Linked DNA regions of Homo sapiens: region 1 is linked to region 2. Evidence: promoter capture Hi-C in 16 types of primary human blood cells and fetal thymus (Javierre and others, 2016). All regions are on one chromosome and are shown on one strand. Each heading gives the region's core, a stretch centred on a gene start or on the middle of the fragment in contact. The rest is flanking DNA. Distances are from core to core; before and after follow the strand shown. Region 1 overlaps SPAG16 (sperm associated antigen 16). Region 2 holds the start of IKZF2 (IKAROS family zinc finger 2).

Region 1 (5,249 bases), core at 350-2,849, 780 kb after region 2:
ACCCATAACAGCAGAGAAGTGCCCTCTCCTCGGAGGACTGAGGTTCCGTTTTGAAGGTCCTCCCTTCAAGGGTCTAAGTTTTAATATTCTACCTTATTCCCTGTGTTCGCTCAGTCCTAGGGGTGGTAGCTCTTTCTTGAAGTTGTTATCTCCATGATATTTTAATGTTCTTTTCCCTTTTTTAGTTACTTAGTTAGCAACTTTATTCAGTTTTTACCATCCTGCATGTGAAATTATTATTGTTACAATGATAGGTGCAAGTTCCGTTTCCTGACAAGTCCTTGAAAGATCCAGGGCATTAGTGGATAAGGAGCATAACCCACCTGAGTTATAAAGCTATAGCTAAATAAAATTAGCCTGCCCCATAGGAGAAAACATGACTGTGAATAACATATTTTAGACCTATGTCTATCTGAAATAGTGACAATTTCAGATAGCTTTTAATTCTCAGATGGGTACTTACTATTTATCTGGAATATCCAATCATTTATAATTCTTTATTATATTTCTATAATGTGTGACTGGATTTCATAAATATTTTTATAATAGATTAATGGAATTTTAGCACTAGTATTTAATTTGAATTTTGTATCACTTTTGACTTGGTTGAGGATCGTAATAGAAAACAGTGATCTTTTCTAAAATGTAATATGTCTTTAGAACTCTTAACTACCCAGGGTGTTTAAAAGCAAACTATGGTTAAAAAACTCAGTAGTCTCAGCCCTACTTGGAATGATTTCAAACACTTTGACTTGACAACTTTTCTTTATGACCCTGGTATCTAAATACTGACTTCCAATTGGTGCCCAGTAAATCTTGATATTACAGATCAAAATTGCTTCTGATTGATGCCAAAATTCTTTAAACTTCAAGTTTCCCATCACTGTCAAGAGTTCACTTTCATCATCAAGGACAAAATAAATTGTACTAATTTTGGCATTGAGGTGGTGGATAAGTATTGACAAATAAAGTAGAAATTGATTGTTTCTATAGTGGCTATTGATATACCTTTCAGAGTCACAATCAAAGTACCAAGCTCTAATTTATAATTACTCTCAGATCAATACAATATAGATATGTCTAAAACTAGTGTCTTTCTTCAAAATTTCATAGATTACTTGAACTGGCTTAGTTACTTAAGGCAAGAGATTATTTGCCTTGGTAAGATGGATGGTGCTGGAGCTATGTATGCTGTGTCATATATTCTTGGCTTGATACTGCATATATATATATATATATATATATATATATATATATATATATATATATATATTTGTTGTTGTTGTTGTTGTTGTTGTTTTTAAGACTGAATCTTGTTCTGTCACCCAGGCTAGAGTGCAGTGGCACAATCTCAGCTCACTGCTCTGCAACCTCTGCTTTCTGGGTTCAAGCAGTTAACCTGCCTCAGCCTCCCGAGTAGCTGGGACTATAGGCACGTGCCACCACACCTGGCTAATTTTTGTATTTTTAGTAGAGACGGGGTTTCACCATGTTGGCCAGGCTGGTCTCAAGCTTCTAAGTGTTTGAGAAACTCCCAAAGTGCTGGGGTTACAGGCGTGAACCACTGCGCCTGGCCATGCTGCATAGTTCTTAATAAATACCAAATTTATATTGGTAGACAGTATTAGTCACCAGAGAAGGAAGAGTTTAGAATACATTCTTCTCTTTTCACACCCGTCCTTTCCTTCAAGCTTCTGGCTCAGTCTTGAACAGCCTTGATTGGTGTTCTATCTCTAGCTCTGCAGCTGTTTCTGAATTGGGCAATACTTGGTAAGACCATCCATTTAGTTCCTCACCAAAAAGTTGGATCACTGTGAAGCATCAACAATATAGAAAATTTCAGATCAAGATTCATATTTACTGAGTGCTAATCAGAATCTATGAACAATTATCTATGACACTCAGTCTGAATAATTCCATACTCTACAAGGTTTCTGTGAATAATTAACAGTAGCTTTTTTATTATCTTCTGAATGATCAGGTATATAAATTGTTATGTATTTCACTTAATGGTTGTTTGAAAACACACACACACACACACACACACACACACACACACACACACCAGTGTAACCCAGAGAGTGCTTGGCACATGGTGGTTTACTTACATAAATGAATAAAGAGTGATTCAACAAGTAAATATGGCAAAAGTATTCTAAATATTCTCCCTGACCCATCCACATTTAAACTACAATATAATTATGCTGTCTTATCCTACACAAATCAATAAAATGATGAAAATGGGGTAGAAAAATCAGAAAATAGCTATAAAAAATAATTTGTATTTCTTTAGAGGCATTTAGAGGCATTTGTATATAACATTAAGCAGTAAGTATTCATGAAATGACTTAACAATGTTGGTCTGTGTTATAGATCTAAGACAATTCTCATACTCAACCATTGCCTTCAATGAGATTACAAGTAATTTAAAATGCAGCAATTTTAAAGCAATAAGGGAATATGCAATGCATCTACCATTTATATTTATAATATCAGATCAGGTATTCTAGTTGACTCCTGGCTGCTTTTCTTCCAAGGTAGCTGGGTATTTGACTGAGCAGTTATATCACACTGTTACTCTGATATTTGGAAGGCAGACCATGTGCCTGCTTAGCTTGTAGCTCGAAGGAGAAGGGGTCGGAAACAGCCAAAATGTTACTGAATGTTGCTATTCCAGCTGTTTTAACAAGGTGTTACACAGACAAGAATTGGGTGGTTTGTACCAAGGATAGTAGGAAACAGAGGGACTTGCAAAATTCAACAGCTTCTTGACCCCTAATGTTGGGAGATAAATCTGTGGCCCTTATTTCTAAGTGTATTGTGTCCAATACTCTTGTAATTACATGGGAAGAGGAAAATAAAGAAGGTTTAAGAACTGTGTTTACTTTAATTTGTGGTTACTGTGGCATTGCGTTGCCTGGAAGCAACTATATTAGAAACCTACCAAGTTTTTGAGAGAATTGTATTGACAAGGAAACTATGAGCCTATCCTTAAATCCCGTTGACTCTTCAAACAGTGAAACAGTCCTCAGAGCCCCAAACTTGCATCCAAAAAAAGTGGACTTGTATTTTTGCACAGTTCAGAAGGAAGGCAGAGACCATAGCACCAATCTCAATATGGCCACAGAGGATAATGAACAAGAAGGAACCTACAGTGGAACTAAGCCAGAAGCTACAAAGAACAATGGGGAAAGGTGCTCCTCTGGGGGACAGCCATGGTCCAATCAAGGAACTTTCTTCAGTACCACGGCAAAGTTCCTCATGATGCCTGCCTAGTTTTTCACTATTTGGACTAGTGATGCTTATATGTTTCCCATGTTTCCGTTTTCTGTATTACAGTTTATACTGCAGTTATTCTGTCCTTACTTCACAATTGTGCATTGTGTTCATGGTGGTGATGGTGGTGGGAAGCAGAAAACTTGTATTTTGTTTTGTTGGTTACCATAATGCAAGTGACACTGCTGAACCAAATGATGCAGATTGTGTGTCAGCCACAGATCATGAACTGTGAGACATGCAGTAACTGAAGAAGAGATCTGGGGATGTTTCTTTTTTTGGTTGTGGAGAGAAGAAAGTCAGTGAATATTCTAAGTGTGGAAGAAAGGATGACAGATATTTGGTGAGAAAAAGGCCAAACTGTGGCAGAGACTGTTAGCTTTTCACTAGAATCCACTTTTTCCTCCTTCCATATTAGTTAGGCACTTGGCTATATATCTAAATGATATTTATTAGCCTCAATTAGTTAAGTATGTCTGCATCACTAAGTTCTATACAATAGAATATTAGTTAAAGTAGCAGGTACTATTTCCTCATTCTTGCCCCCTTGTGGTGGAATGGAATACCAGTGACAATGACCACAATAATCTTAGAAGCCTATTATTGAAACTGAAAGAACAATTGTCAAGCTGCTTGAAGTAAAGCCACCCCTGTTTTGTAACTTCAGTTAGGCTGCAACATTCTCTGGACTCTCCAGCAATAAGAAAATACACTTCCAGGCCTGGTGCGGTGGCTCATGCCTGTAATCCCAGCAGTTTGGGAGGCTGAGGCAGGCCGATCACGAGGTCAGGAGATCGAGACCATCCTGGCTAACACGGTGAAACCCTGTCTCTACTGAAAATACAAAAAATTACCTGGGCGTGGTGGCAGGTGCCTGTAGTCCCAGCTACTTGGGAGGCTGAGGCAGAAGGATGGCATGAACCCAGTGGGCGGAGCTTGCAGTGAGCCGAGATAGCGCCACTGCACTCCAGCCTGGGCAACAGAGTGAGACTCCATCTCAAAAAAAAAAAAAAAAAAAAGACACTTCTATTTGGTTTGAGACATTATATTTCCAGTATATTTGTTACAGTATTTTTGCTTGCCTAGTCTACTATAGGCACCCATGAATACTTTTCAGGTGATATGTTTTTCCCTCATGACATATTATTAAGGCAACCAAGACAAGCTCTGAAGTGTTCTCAAATTATTTGAAGGAGTAGTAATGGAAATTTTCTGCTGATAATAGATGGCTAGTCTACTCCCTCTTTTTTCTTCCCTTGCCCCTTCTTTCTTCCCATCTTTATTGTCTATCGCAATGCTGTTGGAGTCCATGAAATCCTGCTTGCCAATAGCAACATATGCAAGTTAGTTTGCATGGAGGTAATGCTTGTAAGACTAGTTATAAATTATAAAAACATGCAACTGTTGTAAGTGTCTCCATTAGTAGGACACTGTTTCAATAATGAGGATTTCACTGAAATAATGAAAAACGCCAAGGATTTAAATTTTATGTTAGCATTGACCACATTTACTGATAGGAATGAGTTTTGCTCATTGTAGTTAAGCTGATGGAATAAAAACAGTACCTTCCACATGGTTGACCTCACAGGTTTATTTATTTGCTTATAGATCCAACAAATATGCATTGAGCACTTACTTCGTTCTATGCCTTATTCTAGTTACTAAGCTATAATAGTGAAAAACTTCTGCCCTTATGTCATTGGCATTCTTTCAGGAGGCAGAAAATAAGCCAAATGAAAAATGATAATAATTAATAATTACATATAATATTTAGAGATGACAAATTTTGTAGAGGAAAACTAGAGCACAGGTGAAAAGGGATAGCAGGCATTGGAAAGGGTTGCAATTTTAAACAGGAAGGTCGAGAAAATTCTTGTTATAAAGTTGACATTTGGATAACCTGAATAAGGTGAATCAGCAAGCCAAGCAGATACTTGGGAGGAGAATATTCCAAGCTCTTCTGATCAGGAAGC
Region 2 (5,627 bases), core at 3,128-5,627:
TTCACTTCCAATGCTTTGGAGAAGAAACTTTCACATTTTTTAAAAGCAAGTAACACTGTAATTTTATCACTGACGGTTTAGCTTTCTACCAAGGCAACATAAAATTATTTCATTTTTTAACTGTGAAGAGTCCTTTGGAAGTGACGTTTCCACATTTTTTACCCAACAACAACAAAAAATCCAGTCATAAACCTGGCAAGTCAAAACAACAACCAGCAAATTCTAACCTTTCTTACCTGATACAGGTAAGCACCAGCTCCCAAATGCCACCTTGGGATAGTTCAGACTAGTAAGCAGGCTCATGTTTTATAATACTAGAATGAACAGGAATAAATCTGTGTTGTTCTTTCTTTAGCAAAATCTATAACAGTAGCTATACCACAATGTGAGAGGACCCCACAGACCTAACAAATTAAAGTCTGTTGCTGGAGAGACACACACACACAAAAAAAAATCATAAAATGAAGACTTACTGCTTGTCATGTGACTTGGTGAGGCATGCTGTCCATTGGGTGTGCTTGAGGTGAGGTCAATTGCCATATTGGAGTGCTCCCTTTCGGGTGAAAGCTCATTGTCACCTGCTTTCACAAAATATAATCTTTTGGTTTCTATTCATTGTCACATAAGATGTAATTACTAACTTTGCTTTATACACGCAATGGCATGCATAGCCTTCAAACTGTAAGGTAATACATTTTTCCCTTAGAAACTATAAGGAAATATCATTTAGAAATATACAGTTGAATGAAATGATGAGAAGCCATAATCAACCCACAATAAAAAAAATTAACAAAACTTTATTATCTCAATACATAAGTTGTTGATTTCTAAAGTATCTTTCAGTTGAAAGAAATAACTTTTCTTTTAACATCTAATTTAATTGTTAAGCACACAGAATTTATAATGAGCATTTTCCAAAATGCTGGCTATCAGAGAGAGGATGGAAAAGACAGGTAGCTAAAGAAATGTCAAGTTAGGAAAGCTAATTCTCTTTCACATAATATGTCTGAAAAATTAGGTTACAGAGAAGTAAATATTTAGTACACACCATATTAATAGACATATATGAAACCTGGCCTATTCTCAACTTACAACAAAGTAAATTATAAAAAGTAGGAAAGTGTTGAACTGCTAGCTACTATTGATTTAAGTACACTACTTAACTTAGTATGTTTCTATATTTCCTTCTTATTTCACTTCAGTGCTGTCATTTTCTCAAACTCATTCAAAGGTGAAATTGTGAACAGAGAGAAAAAAGAGTACAGAATTCTCAATAAAGTTTCATAATCCAGGAATTAAAACACAGGTAATACAAAGGCAACTTTATTACCAATAACAAATCAATGAAAACTAATACTTACACGTTATATAGCCATCAATAGCCTCTGTTTCCATAGTCAAAGTGCAATGCTGCAAAACAAAAGATTATACCCTTAATACAATGATTCCTTTCAGTATCTGCCATTAAATTCTTAACTTATTTGAAGCTCCAAGCAGTTAGTCCATGTTGCTGCTGCCACCTGTGCCCAGAAACATACACAGTGTACTGTATGTGCTCATTTGCAAGTCACTGAACTCTTTCTGCAAATGATCTGATTCCTGCTGGAGATAGGATAGGAAAGATAAGTGTGCTGTGAGATGGGCTAGAGCAAAAAGGGAATGACTCTCTTAATCAAAATTTATTGGGTTTAAGAAAAAATAGGGGGTATAGCTCAAATGTGTCAGCTTTAACTGGGATTTAAGTGTTTTACCATTCACTACTTCCCACAATCACACTGCAGTTTGAGGACTTCCCCAGTATACAGATAGCTCTATTCACAATTGTTGCAAGTTGGTTCATCATGTTCTAATAGGGAGGGGGAGGACAAACAAACATAAGAAAACAAAACAAAACAAAAAACTTAGTGCCCAACGGTGTCTTGAAGATTTCTACAGCAGTTGGCCAACTCCCTGACTTGTATTGACATTTTAACCTACCCCAAGTTCTGTGTAAGCACCTGTTCAATGTAACCTTAATTTCCTGCCAGACCATGCTTGGACACAAATGCCAAGCCTACTTAATACAGTCTGATTTTGAAAATTTCATAAACTTTGGTTGTGCTAGAGAGAATCATTTAAAAAAAAAAAAAACTTTGGGCAATTATTCTCATGCACAAACGCCACACAACAGAACATAATTCTCAGAAACAAAAGTAAACTGTATGAGATGACACCCCCTAGCTTTGATTCACATAATGAAAAGATCGATAATCTAACTGTATTCTGTGGGGAAAAAAGTTTAAGAATTGACAAGTCCTGAGAAGATTTTTACTTTTTTTTCCCCCTTTGGCCTTGGTCCTTTTTGCCTTTAGTTTCAAAACTCTCACTGCACCAGCAGCTAAATTATTCACAATGAGCCATTTCTGTATTGATCGCCAAGTATATTTAGCCCTGGCTCCTGGAATTTCTCCATTACTTACTGGAAAACAGGCAGCTTCACTTCTTGTCTCCAAAACCACTTCCCTTCTCCCTCCCCTCCCCTTCTTCACCACCACACTCCCTTACCCCCCCCCCAAAAAAAAACTTTTATTTCTTTCTTTATGGAATAATCAGATCAAATTCCCAACTCAGTCACTACATAGCACTTAAATTTCAACCTGCTGTACTGTTATCACATTCTTTTAAATTATGATTACATAAGGCTTTAAAGAAAGAGATCCGTAAAGTTTAAAAGAGGAGCAGTTTCTTCGGATATTTTACAAATGAGCTTATCTCTTTAAAAATGTACACATTTAACACACACATATTAAAAAGAAAGAAACGTCAGGGAGAAGCGAAAGAAGGCTGCCCCATCAATGAAATGGTTATTAACCCTCAGAGAAGGAAAGAAGGAAAAAGAAAAAGGAGAAAGAGAAACGAAATGTACATACAAAAGAAATTGTCCTTTGATTAAAAAAGATTCATCACCATTTCCAGCTCTGTCGGGAGATCTCAGCTTCTTCTAACCCCTCAAAGAGGAGGTGACAATGTCGGGCTGAAGATAAACGGAGGGAGAAAGAAAGAAGTTTTTTGTGTTTCCCCCTTCTCTCTTTCCCTCCCTTGCCCCCTCCAAGCCAAGCCCCCTGCAGAGTTCAAGGGGAGGAGGAAGGAAAAGCACTTTACAGGTGGGTCATTCCAAGCCCAAATCCAGCAAACAGATCGGCTGATAAACAAAACCAAGAAATGAGAGAGAAGAACACCCCCCTCCTCCTCCTCCTCCTCCTCGTCCTCCTCCTCCTCCTCCTTCCACCCCTCCCCCTCGTCCCTTAGGGATGGTCTAGTAGGAAAAGTCACTCAGGAATGGCACCACGTACTTTCAGGAAAGAGGAAAAAAAAGAGAGAGAGAGAGGTCAGTCAGTGCTATAGCAATGCGATTAACAAGAGAAAAAACTTGATCCACCGGTTCCTTAAGAATCGACCAAAAGCTAAGACAAGAAAACTGAAAGAAAAGGGGGGGGGGGCGGGTAGAGGGGAGGGACAGTCAGGCAGAACCCAGCTAGGAACCCAGGCCAACTTCACAGGACTGTTTTTGGCCCTTGGCAAAAAAGAAAAAAAATAAATAAATCTTAATTCCATCTCTTTCGCCCATACTAGAACCTGTCAAAGTGATTTAACTGCTGCCTGTTTACATGTGTCATACCAGGGTTTTTGGTTTTTTTTTTTTTTTAATTCCAACAGGATCTGGATATTACCTTCTATCTGGACAGCTTCAATTTATTCCAGCCTACCCAATCTTTCTTCTTGGAATTCAAGTTAAAACAAAGCAAAACAAGTCCAAATTCATGACAGCTATAGAGATGAGAACTGATTAATCGATTAACATCCCAGAAACAGATTACAAGGAGGGGACGATAAATTAAGGCAGAGGACATCATCTTCAACCCGATTCCCTGAGCGTCCTTTACAAAAATCATTACCCTAATCAGAACCACAATCCATCCCTCCCAGAGAAAAATACCTATATTATTATTATTATTACTGGTTAACAGCAACAAGTCATTTGATCACATCACAGTGCAAAACGAGATGCTATATAATTACACTTAACTTTGAAAACACTCCCCCCTTTGCAAATCATACACATATTTATATATAATCTATGAATCAGAAGACAAAACAAGAGCTGTTCTTCACCACGCAAAAGCCAAGCGGAGATTTACCTCAGCAGTGCATGCAGTAAAATAATCCCATCACCCTTTTGTTTGTGTTTACTGTTAATGTGTCCTCTGTCTTTCTTTCTTTCCTGTGCCTAACGTGTGTTTGTGCACTGCAGTTGGTGGTGGAAACTAAGGCAGTGGATCTGTAGCTAAGGGTAATCCTGTTTTTACTTCCTCCATCTTCAGCGAGGAGCAGGGTTAGCCCGGGACAGCTGGTCAAACCCCGAGAAACCGATCCGGTGGAGCCCGAGCACATCTCCCCCGCCGGCCGGGCTCGCGCAGACGCCCGCGGGCGGAGGGCGGGCTGGCGGCGGCTGCGGCGGCGGCGGCGGCGGGCGGCTGGCGGCGGGCAGCGGAGCCCCGGGCGCGGGCGAGCGGACGTGCGTGCGCGCGCGTGCGTGTGTGCGGGGCCCGAGCGCCTGTGCGTGTGTGTATGAGAGCGCGTGTGCGCGCGCGCGCGGGCTGGCGGGCGCGTGTGCGCGTGTCTGCGCGCTAAGCCGCTCGGCGCGCTCGGCAATCGATTACAGGACAAGTGCTGCCCCGGAGGCTCCGCGACGCGCGCACTCCCTCGCGCCCACCCGCGCGCCCGGCCGCGTCGCCCCCAGCCCGTTGGTCCCCGGACTGCGGACCCCGCCCCCGACGGGGGCCAGGTAACCCGCTTCCGAGTGTGCCACGGCGACCCCCATCTCCCCTCCCCGTGTCATAATAAATCTCACGTTTTCTGCCGGCTGGAGGCTTGGAGCGGTGAGGTGACGTTCATTTCGGCCGCGTGAAGTTTTCTTTCAAACTGGGATTGGTGGGGAGGCCGGGGGAAGGGAGCGGGGCGGCGATCTTGGCGCCCTGCGCGGAGTCCGGGAGCCGCGTCCCGGCCGAGTCGGGGAGTGTGCGTGGAGCCTCCCACCTACTGGTCTCCGCCGGCAACTCTGCGGCCCCATTTCGGAAAGCGCACCGCATTGACCGGGACCTGAAGCGGGATAAGAGGGGTCCTGGGGAATAGACTGAGAAAGACATTCATGTCTGAGATGAAGCTCAACTATTACTATTTTGAAAGTGCTTTAACAGTGCAAGTTTAAAAACTAAAGTGTTGACTTGCTTTTTCTCCCCCGGGGCATGTGCCACGTCTTCCAAAGTCAAAGGAACGGATGAGTACAAAAAGTTGCTACCCTTGAAGTGTTACCTATCACTATCAACCACAGCTTGTTTATTTGGAAAGAACTTAAGTGAACCGTCAAGAGAAAAACAAATGCATATTCTTTCTACAAATAGTAGCATTTAGTATCTTTCCTGACCACATTTGCGAAAAGAGGGAATAGAGACTTCTATAATTAAAGGGAAAAGGAAAATGAAAGGAGCTGAAAATAGTGAACTGTGTAGTCTGGATGGCTGAAATTTGAAAACACATGAAATTATCAGGACTGCCAAACGGTGTTCCTGAGAAACCATATCACAGAT

What was found. Contacts are between HindIII fragments. The CHiCAGO score rates a contact against its expected background, and 5 or more counts as called.
Region 1: a fragment that was not itself captured here is called in contact with the fragment with the promoter of IKZF2 in region 2 in 1 of 17 cell types (total B cells); the score reaches 5.3 in total B cells.

The regions. Positions count from the first base shown.
Region 1 is chr2:213,930,927-213,936,175 of GRCh38, forward strand. All of the region lies in intron 12 of SPAG16 (sperm associated antigen 16), which reads left to right. Among named protein-coding and RNA genes, the nearest start is that of MIR4438, 180 kb to the left of the region's middle. The HindIII fragment of the contact is 179 bases long and covers 1,511-1,689 here.
Region 2 is chr2:213,147,235-213,152,861 of GRCh38, forward strand. IKZF2 (IKAROS family zinc finger 2) reads right to left here and starts at 4,378. Exons shown (of 9, transcript NM_001387220.1): 1 at 4,179-4,378; 2 at 2,910-3,013; 3 at 1,362-1,410; 4 at 474-578. The coding sequence starts at 1,395. RefSeq lists enhancers at 252-301, 2,003-2,102 and silencers at 4,469-4,528, 4,609-4,968. The HindIII fragment of the contact is 7,158 bases long and covers 1-5,627 here.